Linked DNA regions of Homo sapiens: region 1 is linked to region 2. The links are contacts of gene promoters, found by promoter capture Hi-C in human tissues and cell types (Jung and others, 2019). All regions are on one chromosome and are shown on one strand. The core of a region is centred on a gene start or on the middle of the fragment in contact, and the rest is flanking DNA. Distances in the headings are between cores, read along the strand shown.

Evidence for each region. Contacts are between HindIII fragments. The study calls those that stand out against the background at their distance.
Region 1: a contact is called between a fragment that was not itself captured here and the fragment with the promoter of EXOSC1 in region 2, in 2 of the 25 tissues and cell types used here (mesenchymal stem cells and pancreas).

Annotation. Positions count from the first base shown.
Region 1 is chr10:97,523,601-97,530,308 of GRCh38, reverse strand. The region is part of intron 1 of UBTD1 (ubiquitin domain containing 1); the gene reads right to left. Among named protein-coding and RNA genes, the nearest start is that of UBTD1, 28 kb to the right of the region's middle. The HindIII fragment of the contact is 3,642 bases long and covers 1,774-5,415 here.
Region 2 is chr10:97,441,847-97,448,654 of GRCh38, reverse strand. It overlaps EXOSC1 (exosome component 1), which reads left to right and starts at 2,649. Exons shown (of 8, transcript NM_016046.5): 1 at 2,649-2,700; 2 at 2,808-2,923; 3 at 5,344-5,418. The coding sequence starts at 2,670. It overlaps ZDHHC16 (zDHHC palmitoyltransferase 16), which reads right to left and starts at 2,480. Exons shown (of 12, transcript NM_198046.3): 1 at 2,302-2,480. RefSeq lists a silencer at 2,219-2,428 and enhancers at 2,360-2,939, 2,940-3,520. The HindIII fragment of the contact is 7,908 bases long and covers 1-6,348 here.

The DNA.
Region 1 (6,708 bases), core at 2,345-4,844, 81 kb before region 2:
AAGCCACCATGCACAGCTCAGGATGCATTTCTTATAATAAAGAGCTTGCATCATTCTTCATTCATTCATCGATTCATCCATCCATTCATTCATTCATTCATTCATTCAAGAAACATGTATTGAGCTTCTAGTATGCACCAGGCCCCGTGCTGGGGAACACGGACACAAAGTCACTAAGGCTCTCAAGGTCAGAGCTAGTGAGGGAGACAGACATGTCAGGAGATTGTTAGAAACTAATGCACACATGCAAGGGGAGTGATATGCACAGGAATCAGGGGGACACGTGAATGTGGTCTCACCCCCTCTGCGGAAGGTCTTAAAGTTTGCTCCAAGTACCAAAGAACAAGCTGGAGTTAGCCAGGCAAAAGGGCAAGGGGGCTGGGCTCGCCAGACAGAGGAGGCAGTGTGAGCCTACTCTGGGCTCAGGTTTGTGGAGCTGCAAGCAGTGCTGCCAGGTAGATCACACGAGGCAGGAGGTGGTCAGAATGAAGCCAAAGAAGGGCAGATCAGTCCCAGTCCCTCTCCCTCTCCCCACGGTCTCCCTCTCCCCACGGTCTCCCTCTCCCTCTCTTTCCACGGTCTCCCTCTCATGCCGAGCCGAAGCTGGACTGTGCTGCTGCCATCTCGGCTCACTGCAACCTCCCTGCCTGATTCTCCTGCCTCAGCCTGCCGAGTGCCTGCACGCCTGACTGGTTTTCGTTTTTTTTTTGGTGGAGACGGGGTTTCGCTGTGATGGCCGGGCTGGTCTCCAGCTCCTAACCGCGAGTGATCCGCCAGCCTCGGCCTCCCGAGGTGCCGGGATTGCAGACGGAGTCTCGTTAACTCAGTGCTCAATGGTGCCCAGGCTGGAGTGCAGCGGCGTGATCTCGGCTCGCTACAACCTCCACCTCCCAGCCGCCTGCCTTGGCCCCCCAAAGTGCCGAGATTGCAGCCTCTGCCCAGCCGCTACCCCGTCTGGGAAGTGAGGAGCGTCTCTGCCTGGCCGCCCATCATCTGGGATGTGAGGAGCCCCTTTGCCTGGCTGCCCAGTCTGGAAAGTGAGGAGCGTCTCTGCCCGGCCGCCATCCCACCTAGGAAGTGAGGAGCGCCTCTTCCCGGCCGCCATCCCATCTAGGAAGTGAGGAGCGTCTCTGCCCGGCCGCCCATCGTCTGAGATGTGGGGAGCGCCTCTGCCCCGCTGCCCCGTCTGGGATGTGAGGAGTGCCTCGGCCGGCCGCGACCCTGTCTGGGAGGTGAGGAGCGTCTCTGCCTGGCCACCCTGTCTGAGAAGTGAGGAGACCCTCCGCCCGGCTGCCACCCCGTCTGGGAAGTGAGGAGCGTCTCCGCCCGGCAGCCACCCTGTCCGGGAGGGAGGTGGGGGTCAGCCCCCGCCAGGCCAGCCGCCCCATCCAGGAGGGAGGTGGGGGGTCAGCCCCCCACCCGGCCAGCCGCCCCATCCGGGAGGTGAGGGGCGCCTCTGCCCGGCCGCCCCTACTGGGAAGTGAGGAGCCCCTCTGCCCGGCCAGCCGCCCCGTCCGGGAGGGAGGTGGGGGAGTCAGCCCCCCGCCCGGCCAGCCGCCCCGTCCGGGAGGGAGGTGGGGGGGGTCAGCCCCCCGCCCGGCCAGCCGCCCCGTCCGGGAGGGAGGTGGGGGGGGTCAGCCCCCCGCCCGGCCAGCCGCCCCGTCCGGGAGGGAGGTGGGGGTTCAGCCCCCCGCCCGGCCAGCCGCCCCGTTCGGGAGGGAGGTGGGGGGGTGAGCCCCCCGCCAGGCGAGCCGCCCCGTCCGGGAGGGAGGTTGGGGGTCAGCCCCCTGCCCGGCCAGCCGCCCCGTCCGGGAGGTGAGGGGCACCTCTGCCCGGCCGCCCCTACTGGGAAGTGAGGAGCCCCTCTGCCCGGCCAGCCGCCCCGTCCGGGAGGGAGGTGGGGGAGTCAGCCCCCCGCCCGGCCAGCCGCCCTGTCCGGGAGGGAGGTGGGGGGGTCAGCCCCCCGCCAGGCGAGCCGCCCCGTCCGGGAGGGAGGTTGGGGGTCAGCCCCCTGCCCGGCCAGCCGCCCCGTCCGGGAGGTGAGGGGCGCCTCTGCCCGGCCGCCCCTACTGGGAAGTGAGGAGCCCCTCTGCCCGGCCAGCCGCCCCGTCCAGGAGGGAGGTGGGGGAGTCAGCCCCCCGCCCGGCCAGCCGCCCCGTCCGGGAGGGAGGTGGGGGGGTCAGCCCCCCGCCCGGCCAGCCTCCCCGTCCGGGAGGGAGGTGGGGGAGTCAGCCCCCCGCCCAGCCAGCCGCCCCGTCCGGGAGGTGAGGGGCGCCTCTGCCCGGCCGCCTCTACTGGGAAGTGAGGAGCCCCTCTGCCCGGCCACCACCCCGTCTGGGAGGTGTACCCAGCAGCTCATTGAGAACGGGCCATGATGACAATGGCGGTTTTGTGGAATAGAAAAGGGGGAAAGGTGGAAGATTGAGAAATCGGATGGTTGCTGTGTCTGTGTAGAAAGAAGTAGACATGGGAGACTTTTCATTTTGTTCTGTACTAAGAAAAATTCTTCTGCCTTGGGATCCTGTTGATCTATGACCTTACCCCCAACCCTGTGCTCTCTGAAACATGTGCTGTGTCCACTCAGGGTTAAATGGATTAAGGGTGGTGCAAGATGTGCTTTGTTAAACAGATGCTTGAAGGCAGCATGCTCGTTAAGAGTCATCACCACTCCCTAATCTCAAGTACCCAGGGACACAAACACTCTGCCTGGAAAACCAGAGACCTTTGTTCACTTGTTTATCTGCTGACCTTCCCTCCTATTGTCCTATGACCCTGCCAAATCCCCCTCTGCGAGAAACACCCAAGAATGATCAATAAAAAAATAAAATAAAAATAAAAATAAATAAATAAATAAATAAATAAAAAAGAAGGGCAGATCAGTGAGGGCCTCTGGGCCAGTGACACAACTTGGACATTATGCCCTAAGGGATGGGAGAGCCTCTGAAGGGGCAAAGCCAAGGAAGGATAGGCACTCTTTTTCTTTTTGAAATTTTTTGTATAGATAGGGTTGCCCAGGCTGGTCTCAAACTCCTGGACTCAAGTGATCCTCCTGCGTTGGCCTCCCAACGCATATGGGATTATAGGCATAAGCCACCGCAGCCTGCCAAGGCAGGCTTTTTTTTTTTTTTTTTTTTTTTGGAGACAAGAGTTTCGCTTTGTTGCCTAGGCTGGAGTGCAGTGGCACGATCTTGGCTCACTCCAACCTCCGCCTCCTGGTTCAAGCAATTCTCATGCCTCAGCCTCCTGAGTAGCTGGTATTACAGGTGCCTGTCACCACGCCTGGTTAATTTTCATATTTTAGTAGAGACAGGGTTTTCCTATGTTGCCCAGGCTGGTCTTGAACTCTTGAGCTCAGGTAATCCACCCGTCTCAGCCTCCCAAAGTGCTGGGATTACAGGTGTGAGCCACCACGCTCGGCCTAAGAGAGGCATTTCTTTTTTTTTTTTTTTTTTTTGAGACGGAGTCTTGCTCTGTCACCCAGGCTGGAGTGCAGTGGCGTGATCTTGGCTCACTGCAACCTCTGCCTCCCAGGTTCAAGCAAGCAATTCTCCTGCTTCAGCCTCCCAAGTAGCTGGGACTACCGGTGCATGCCACCATGCCCGGCTGACTTTTGTATTTTTAGTAGAGATGGGGTTTCACCATGTTGGCCAGGCTGGTCTTGAATTCCTGACCCCAAATGATATGTAAGGCAGGCATTTTTGATTGTTCACTCTGGAATCCATGTGGAGAGTGGGTTTAAGGAGTCTTGAATGAAGGCAGGAAGATCAGTTAAGAGGCTGCTGCATTAGAAGAGGAGCGAAAAAACAGGGGCCTGGACTCAGATTTTATTGTGTCGATCATGGTAGGCAGAGTTTTAGTGGGATGGAGATGAGAGGATGGATTTGAGAAGTCCTTGAGTCACACATTTAGACTTTCCATTTTTCACGCTAGAATCAAAGTCTTAGTGCATAAAGCTTTGCACACACTTCGGCTTCATTCTCTATGATAAAGTCCTTGTTGTGGAATTTCTAGGTCAAAGAGCAGGGATAGTTTTAAGGTTCTTGTTACCTTTTGCCAAATTGCTTTCCAGAAAGACTATCAATTTTCACTTCCACCAGCAGTGCACAAGAGTGCTTGTTAGACCCTTAGGGATGAAGCCCTGCCAGAGATCGAATCCTCTGCTTCGCCCCAAACACAATGACTGCGAATAGGCTTCCAGACTACACAAATGGCACATCAGTCTGCAGGGTAAGTTGCTTTGGAGCTGACCTAGGGCCAGGGAAGTGGCACTCTCTCCCCACTCTGACCATCTTCCTTGCTGCTGCCAGGAACCTTGTTAATAGTGATTATGTCACTCCCCTGCTCAAAAACTTTCTATGGCTCCCCACTACCTAAAAATAAAAGCCAAACACCTTAGCATGGAAATCAAGTCTTTCCAAAAATATGATCTTCAGTCCACATTACCACATTCCCATAAATTCATTTATTCATTCAACAAATATTTGAGGACCCAGTATTTACCCATACAAAACAAAGTCCTTGCTCTCCCGCAGTTTACATTCTAGCAGGAGAGACAGACAATGCACAAGGCCATCTAGAGTATGTCAGGTATTTATATGTCATCCCCAAGTTAAGCAGAAAAATACAGTGATTAGAATTGAGAATGGGGGACCAGAGAAGGCCTCTAATATGGAGATGGGTGCAGAGGCCAGTGGAGGGAGAAGTGAGCCGCATAGACAGCTGGGACCTGTTCTCTCACTCACTTCCACTAGGCTCAGACCACACCTGAGCCACTAGCCCTCCATGAGCTTCCAAGTCTCCATGCCTTTGCTATTGGTTTTCTCTCCCGAAGATACCCCATCTTTTGAAATAGAAAATGTCGGCGCCCAGCTAGAATGTCACCTCTTCTGTGAAGCCCTCCTAATTCCTCAGCCACACTGCTCTCAGCACTTCATTCCATTTTCCAGTCCACCCAACTGCGAGCATATGGAGGCCCCAGGTGGTCTTTTAGCTCTCTATCTGCGGTGCCCAGCATACAACAAAAGAGATTCTCTGTTTTGGCATTTACAGATTGTCTGGGTTCCACACACACCCTCTCCAGACTACACTGTGAGTTGCTAAAAGGCAGAAATTGCCTTCTTTGGCTTCTGGTCCCCTAAGTTGGTGCAGCATAGTCTGGCACACAGATGTTTCCCAAGGAAGGGGGCACATGTGCAAGTTGCCAAAGAGTGTGGGCACATGACTAGCAGGGAGGCATATTCTTCTCTCAGCACACACAAGTGAAAATACTCTCCATCTTCTGTAGTGAGGCTGTTAGTTACCTACCCAAAGCCACTTTCCCCTTCTTCATGGCCACACAACAGCCCAGGCAGACATTTCTCAGCCTTGCTTGCAGCCAGGGAGGCCATGTGACTATGCTGCACATGGGCCATGGAGGACCAGGGCCTAGGGAAGGTAGGCAGGCCTCCTCCACCCTTTCTTCCCCCTCCACTGGCTGGAGCCCAGACATGGCTGCAACCCAACTTCAACCATGCAAACAACAATGTTCTATGATGTGGCAGCAACTTCAAAAAAACAGGATCCCAGGTGACCACAAGGAGCCGAGCTGCCCCCTCACTTGGTCTGTTCACGTTGAGGACATCAGGGCCATTACATGAGACAGAAAAACAAACTCCTCATTCTTTAAGCCACTGTATCATTAGACCCCTTCAACGCAGCAGGGCAGCTTTCCACAAAGAAATGCACCTGCCTTCATAGGGTGAGCAGAGCATCAATGAGACATAAGTCATCGTAGTCCTCAAAAACCTGTCTTGGTGCCTCCAGGAGGAATGGTGAATCCTGTTCCCAGCCAACCCCTACGATTTGGGAGTATCAGGAAGAGGGGGCTAGAAGAAGGAGGTGTGCCAGTCAGGGTAAAAACTCTATGGGGGACCGGGCTTGGTGGCTCATGCTTGTAATCCCAGCACTTTAGGAGGCTGAGGTGGGTGGACTGCTTGAATCCAAGAGTTCGAGACTAGTCTGGGCAACATAGTGAGACCCCCCCGCATCCCTACAAAAACATACAAAAATTAGCCAGGGATGGTGGCGCATGCCTATGGTCCCAGCTACTCTAGAGGCTAAAGTGGGAGGATCACCTGAGCCTGGGAGGTAGAGGCTGCAGTGAACCATAATCGCGCCACTGCACTCCAGCCTGGGTGACAGAGCGAGGAACCCATAAGGAGCAGGGGCACTGTGATCAGGGTGGGAGGGCAGCCTCGGAGCCCATGGCAGGTTTAAAAGCCAAGTCCTGCTGCTAAAGAAGGGCTGAGGAACACAAAACCAAATGCACACAAACATTCATTCTAGCCCCTCTTACGGGTCTCCCCACACTCATCCTGCTGGCTGTCACGGAGGCAGAACTGCAGAAAACAGTAAATGGGGAAGGGGCATCATCTCACTGGCTCCAGCTGCCACAGAAGCAGCAGGAACAAGGGACGTCGGGTCTTCAGCAGTCTCACGAGGCCACAGAGACCAACAGTCCTGCCTTAATTCTGGGTCTGCTACACCCTGCACCACCTCAACTCTGAACTCTGATGTCCACCAAGTTACACCCAAAGAAGGTACAAAGACAGAGGAAAAATACCGCCCCCATCCCCAGCCCCCAGGTGCCCAAATCATCTTCCCAACTATCCTGGCTCTACCAAGCTCAAGTCCCTGCCTGCCAGCTCTAGCCCACCTTCTACAACCATC
Region 2 (6,808 bases), core at 1,400-3,899:
CTCCCAAGTAGCTGGGATTACAGGCACCTGCCACCTCGCCCAGCAAATGTTTGTATTTTTAGTAGAGACGGGGTTTCGCAATGTTGGCCAGGCTGGTCTTGAACTCCTGACCTCAGGTGATCTGTCTGCCTTGGCCTCCCAAAGTGCTGGGATTACAGGTGTGAGCGAACCACCATGCCCAGCTGCCCCCAAATATTTCCAATCCATGGTTGGATTGGATCAGCAATGTGAAACCCACAGGTATGAAGAGCAAACTTCTTTGGTAAGTGTAAATGAAATGTTTATAAAGCACTTAGCACAATACCCGGCTCATGGAAGTACTCAATAAATATTTGTTGAATGAATGACCTGGAGGGATGCAGAAGTGGAAAGCCTGGCCAGATGTCTATCTGTCCTACAAATACCAGCAAGGACACTCCTGCCAATGTGGTAACACTAAATAAGTGTCTGCTGTTATCATTCTTCCTGATTCATAAAGAGAGAAATACAAACTGTTATTAAAATCATGGCACTTAGGAGCTAGAAGTCGTTTTTGAAAACAAGCCCAACCAGAAATCAGCCCAACCGTGTAAACAGAAAGCTCCTAGACGCACAGATACAGATTTGGGTGAACAAAGTCTGAGGCTAGGGCCTCTCTCCATTAGCTAATGGGGTATGGGATGCCAGGAAAATTACATATGTAGTAAGTGGGCCGCAACTGAACACACAGACTTTTCTTTTTTTTTTTTTTTGAGATGGAGTTTCACTCTTGTTGCCCAGGCTGGAGTGCAATGGCACAATCTGGGCTCACCACAACCTCCGCCTCCTGGGTTCAAGCAATTCTCCTGCCTCAGCCTCCTGAGTGGCTGGGATTCCAGGCATGTGCCACCACGCCTGGCTAATTTTGTATTTTTTTAGTAGAGACCGGGTTTCTCCATGTTGGTCAGGCTGGTCTCAAACTCCCGACCTCAGGTGATGTGCTTGCCTCAGCCTCCCAAAGTGCTGGGATTGCAGGCGTGAGCCACCGCACCTGGCCCAGACTTTTCATCTCAAGAAATAGAAGTAAAGCAAAATTCAAAAAGATGTGTGTAGGGGAGAAGGGGCTAATCTCAGTGAACGGGAGGAAACAGAGCAAAGCGCAGCTTTACTACCACCCCAAGCACAAGCCCGAGTACTCTGATCCTTCAGTAATAGTCACAGGCCATACTGGTCATCTGCCACCAGACTGGAGGAGATTGCTGGCCACAACACTCCCCTCTTCCCATGGCTTTAAGTCACATCTGTTTCCCAATGGGAAAGTCGACTGAGGGGACAGGGAAGGACAGACGGCAAAGCCATCAGAAGTCAGGTGAACTGAGATCAAAGTCGTGGCGAATGTCATCTGGACAAAGACGCTGCTCTCAGGATGTTTGCAATCTCAAGTAGGAGATACCCAACATCAATAAAGAGTAGCATTTTATTCATGTGCAGACCTCCCTTCTGGGCTAACACGCTGAGAAGAAAAAGAGTAACAACTTTATTTTGGGGCTGCTTATCTTTTGATGACGGGCCCACACAACCAGAGTTCGGCTTTTTCAACCAGAGAAAGCTTACTGAAGTGGGGATGAGGGGCCGCGAAGAGGATCGGACCGCAGGACTGGAAGCTGCAGTTTAAAAAACCGGGAAAAGGCCGGAGGCAGTGGCTCATGCCTGTACTCCCTGCACTTTGGAAGGCCGAGGCGGGCGGATCAAGAGATCAAGACCATCCTGGCTAACATGGTGAAACCCCGTCACTACTAAAACTACAAAAATTAGCTGGGCGTGGTGGCGCGCGCCTGTAAGTCCCAGCTGCGCGGGAGGCTGAGGCAGGAGAATCGCTTGATGCCGGGAGGCGGAGGTTGCAGTGAACAGAGATCGCTCCACTGCACTCCAGCCTGGCGACAGAGCGAGACTCCTCAAAAACAAAACAAAAAAACCGGGAAAAGGTTTTATTTCTCAATGACAGCCGCGAGGTGAAACTGCGATGGACTGGAAGTCAAAAACCGTGGGTTCCAGTTTGGGCTCTATCTTAACTATCTTGATCATTTTGGACAAGTCAAACCCTGTCTCTGAATCTGAGGTTCCATATCTGTGAAACAGACGAGTTGGGTCGCTTGACCTCCTTCCCTCCTGCTCTGAGCGTAACGATTGCTCGGAAGGTGCGCTCGGGCTGAGGAGGGCACGGCCCCGCAGGGCGGGGCGAGGAGAGAGCAGGAACCCGCACTCAAGACAAGGCCCCAGGGCAGTGCCCTACCCAGAAAAAGGGACTAGGATGGGGAGCAAGGGCCGAGGCTTCGCCCTTACCTGCCGCCTGCCGACTCCCCAGTCAGCCAAACCGAGCCCCGTAGCCTCTGCCGCCGCTCACTGCCACCCCCTCCGACTCGGCGCCCCGGCCGGGCCCGGCTCAATCCAAACCACCATGGCCCGCCGCCCGCAGCGCCAGGCAGCGGACCCGGACCCGCCGCCAGCCCATCCTCAACCACACGCGCAGGCGCCAGCGTGGACCTCTGAAGTTCCGCCCCCGGATTTGTCCCGGGGTAACCTGGGAAATGGAGTTTACTCGCAAGGATAAAGAGTACCAATTGACACGTGTCTTACTGCGGAACTGTGCCTGGGTTTGGCCAATGAGAAATCGACTTCGTTTTCATCCTGGTTTTGGGACAGCGGCAATCATGGCGCCACCTGTGAGATACTGCATCCCCGGTAAGTGAGCGCTTCCCGTACAGAGTCCTGGATAGGGGCTGAAGCAAGAAGGCTAAACGGCCTACAGCTTCTGGGGGCCCGTGACCGATGCAGCATTTTTTCTGCAGGCGAACGTCTGTGTAACTTGGAGGAGGGCAGCCCGGGCAGCGGCACCTACACCCGCCACGGCTACATCTTTTCGTCGCTTGCCGGCTGTCTGATGAAGAGCAGCGAGAATGGCGCGGTAAAGGAAGCGGCATGCCATCTCCCCTCTGTTTTTCCCTTAGGCTGCCCTTGAGTTCCAGTCCTTAGGCATGGGCACTGCGGACGCGTCTTTAGTGCCTCAGTGGTACAATGTTGGTCTCTTAGTTTCTTCTAGCCGTATCGCCGCTGTGGTGCACTTAGCCACCACACACTAGTTGTGTTGATCTCGCTTGGTTGTGCTGCTGACCCTCGGGGAGGGAAGTTGGGACAAAAGCAGATGCGAACTCAGTATCCCATCCCAGCCCAGCTCAGCCCAGCAGTGAGTTGCATACTGTATGAATGTTGCTTACCTTTCCGACTTTATCTAGCGCCACTATCTCCACCTCACTGACGCAATCTAGTCATACTGTCTTTTCTGTGTTTAAAAGTTATAATCACAGTCTCTGCTTGCCCTTTAAAAATTTTTTATAACATACTAGCTTCTTTCAGTGTCGGTAATGCGCCAAGCTTTCTCCTGCTACAGAGCCTTTGTAACATGCCATCTATCTGGAACGCTTCTATCTTCCTAGGCCTATTTAATTCCTACCTCCTTTAGATAGCTTCTCTACTATCACCTCAGAGAAGTCCTTCTGGACCCACTAATTGAGGAAAGGAGTTTTGTGGGGTGTTTTGTTTTTGTTTGTTTTGTTAAAGACTCACAAAAAACTCTGTTCCTTTTCTTCCAAGCACTATGTCAGCATATGATGAGACACTCAGGTATATGTTTCCTACTAGACTTCTCCCCTGCTTAAATCTAAGTCCGTGAAAGCAGGCCCTACCACCATACCATCCGTATATAGCACAAGGCAGCTCCTCAATAAATGTTGAATGTGTGAGTAATACCTACCTTTCTAGTTTCAGAGATAGATCCAGGATTAGCTCAGGATCATATAAGCAATATTTGAAGGAGCACAATAGAAAGAGGATTCAGAATTAGAACAGTTACGTTCTGGCTAACTTGACTTTGATTCTGCTTTGAGTAAGTAACTTAAGCTGTCTGATTCAAGGGGCTTTCTATTCAGTCATTGTTGGGAATGTTCTTAACAGTCCTGAGTTTGTTCATTTCATAGATATCACTTGAGTATTTTCATGTGTCAGGCACAGCGCTGACTTGGTTTCTGCTATCAAAGGACACAGACACAAATTGTAAACAAATAAATGCTCAAATGAGCATATGGTTACATATGTGGTGGTGCTTTGAAAGAATATTACAGGGCACCTTGAGAACATGTAACAGGCAAACCCATCCTAGTCAGCAGAAGTGACATTTAAGCTGAATCATCTAAAGAGTAGGTAAGAGTCAGGTGGGTGGAGAGAGTGCAGCTCTGGCAGAAAGAATAGGTTGAAGAGAGATCTGAAAGTGGGAAGAATTTAGTAAGTTGGGGAAACTGAAAGAAGGCCAGGAGAGCTGAAGCATTGTGAGCAACGGAGAGATTGATAAAAGATGAGGCTCAAAATATCTGTCTTATACCAACAGCCAATACCATGCTCAAAGAGAAAACTCTGCAAGTATTCACTTAAAATAGAAGAAAACAAGCATAGCCGCTATTATGTAACATTTTTGTGGAAATTTCAGCCTGTGCAATAAAATAAGAAACAGAAGGAAGCAGTATAACTTTGGAGGAAAGAGTAAATTGTCGGCAGGGCGCAGTGGCTCACACCTGTAATCCCAGCACTTTGGGAAGCCAAGGCAGGTGGATCACCTGAGGTCAGGAGTTCGAGACCAGCCTGGCCAACATGGTGAAACCCCATCTCTACTAAAAATACAAAAAATTACCCGAGCATGGTGACAGGCTTCTGTAATCCCAGCTACTCGGGAGGCTGAGGCAGGAGAATCACTTGAACCCAGGAGGTGGAGGTTGCAGTGAACCAAGATGGCACCCTTGCACTCCATCCTAGGCAACAAGAGTGAAACTCCATTTCAAAAAAAAACAAAAAAAGTAAAATTGTCAATGATTATAGGCAATATAGTTGTATACCAAGAAATTCTGAGAGAATCACCAAAAAACTTATTAGAAGTTTAGAGATTTACTACAAAAAAAAGTAGCTGGGCATGGTGGCGGGTGCCTGTAGTCCCAGCTACTCGGGAGGCTGAGGCAGGAGAATGGCGTGAACCCGGGAAGTGGACCTTGCAGTGAGCCGAGATCGTGCCACTGCACTCCAGTCTAGGCGACAGAGCAAGACTCCGTCTCCAACAACAAAAAAAGAAGTTTAGAGATGTATGTCTTCTAGCAGCATTCTGTAGCCTCCTGGTCCTCCTATTTCCTAAAATTTCTAAGGCCTTCTGCTCTGGGCTATAAATGAATCCATACTCCAACTCTCACCTTTATACCAAGACATTCCTATATTACTCTCAAGCCACAAATGCCTTGACCCAAGGGTTAGTCAGGACATTTCAGTTTTTTGTTGTTCCCTCTGTAGCTTCCAGTGGTGTCTGTAGTGAGAGAAACAGAGTCCCAGTTACTGCCAGATGTGGGAGCTATTGTAACCTGTAAGGTAAGTTGGTCCTGACCTCCATGCTTAGAATGCCCATTCAATACTGAAATCATGACCATACCAGAACTGCAGTGTCCAGTATGATAGCCACAAGCTACATAAATTTATTTCTGGCAGGGCACAGTGGCTCACACTGGTAATTCTAGCACTTTAAGAGGCCGAGGCAGGAGGATTGCTTCAGCCCAGAGTTCAAGACCAGCCTGGGAAACATAGTGAAACCTCATCTCTACAAAAAGAATCAAAAATTGCCGGGCATGGTGGCTCATGCTTGTAATCCCAGCACTTTGGGAGGCCGAGGTGGGCAGATCACCTGTGGTCAGGAGTTCAAGACCAGCCTGGCCAATCATGGCCAACATGGTGAAACCCTGTCTCTACCAAAAATACAAAAATTAGCTTAGCGTGGTGGTGCATGCCTGTAATCCCAGCTACTCGGGAGGCTGAGGCAGGAGAAGTGCTTGAACCCAGGAGGTGGAGGTTGCAGTGAGCCTGCGTCACAGCAGTCCAGCCTGGGCAACAGAGTGAGACTCCGTCTCAAAAAAAAAGAAGAAGAAGAATAAAAAATTAGCCAGGCATGGTAGCACATGCTTGTGGTCCCAACTACTTGGGAGGCTGAAGCAGGAAGATCGCTTGGGCCCAGGGGGTTGAGGCTGCAGTGAGCCATGATCACTCCAGCTTGGGTAACAGGGCAAGACTCTGTCTCTCAAGAAAAAAATAAAATTGATTTCCTTAGTCACATTAGCCACATTTCAAGTACTCAATAGCCACTTGTGGCTAGTGGTTGCTATACTGGTCAGCACATGACTTTTCTGTCATCACAGAAAGTTTTACTGGACTGTGCAGGCTTACAGATTTCTAGGATAATAATCAAGGCAGCCAAGTTCAGGCATGCATAGTTCCTTCACTGAGCTGATTCCCTGAATACATAGTTCTACCTGTGTCTGGGAAACAGGGATGCCAGAGGATGATTAGGAGGCCTATTTTTGAACATCTGAAGCTGAGTTCTTTTTCTGCAGAGAAGCAAAAGACTTTATTTTTTGCCATTCCTGTTTTTTTTTTTTTGAGACAGGGCCTTGCTCTGTCACCCAGGCTGGAGTGCAGTGGCACGATCTCGGCTCACTGCAGCCTCTGGCCTCTTGGGTTCAAGCAATTCTACTGCCTCTGCCTCCCGAGTAGCTGGGATTATAGGCATGTGCTGCCACGCCTGGCTAATTTTTGTATTTTTAGTACAGGTGGGGTTTTACCATGTTGGCCAGGCTGGTCCTGAACTCCTGACCTCAAGTGATGCGCCCACCTCAGCCTCCCAAAGTGCTGGGATTACAGGCATGAGCCACTGTGTCCAGCCTCTTTTTTTTTTTTTTTTTTAATTGTTAGCCATCTATACTTTAAAAAG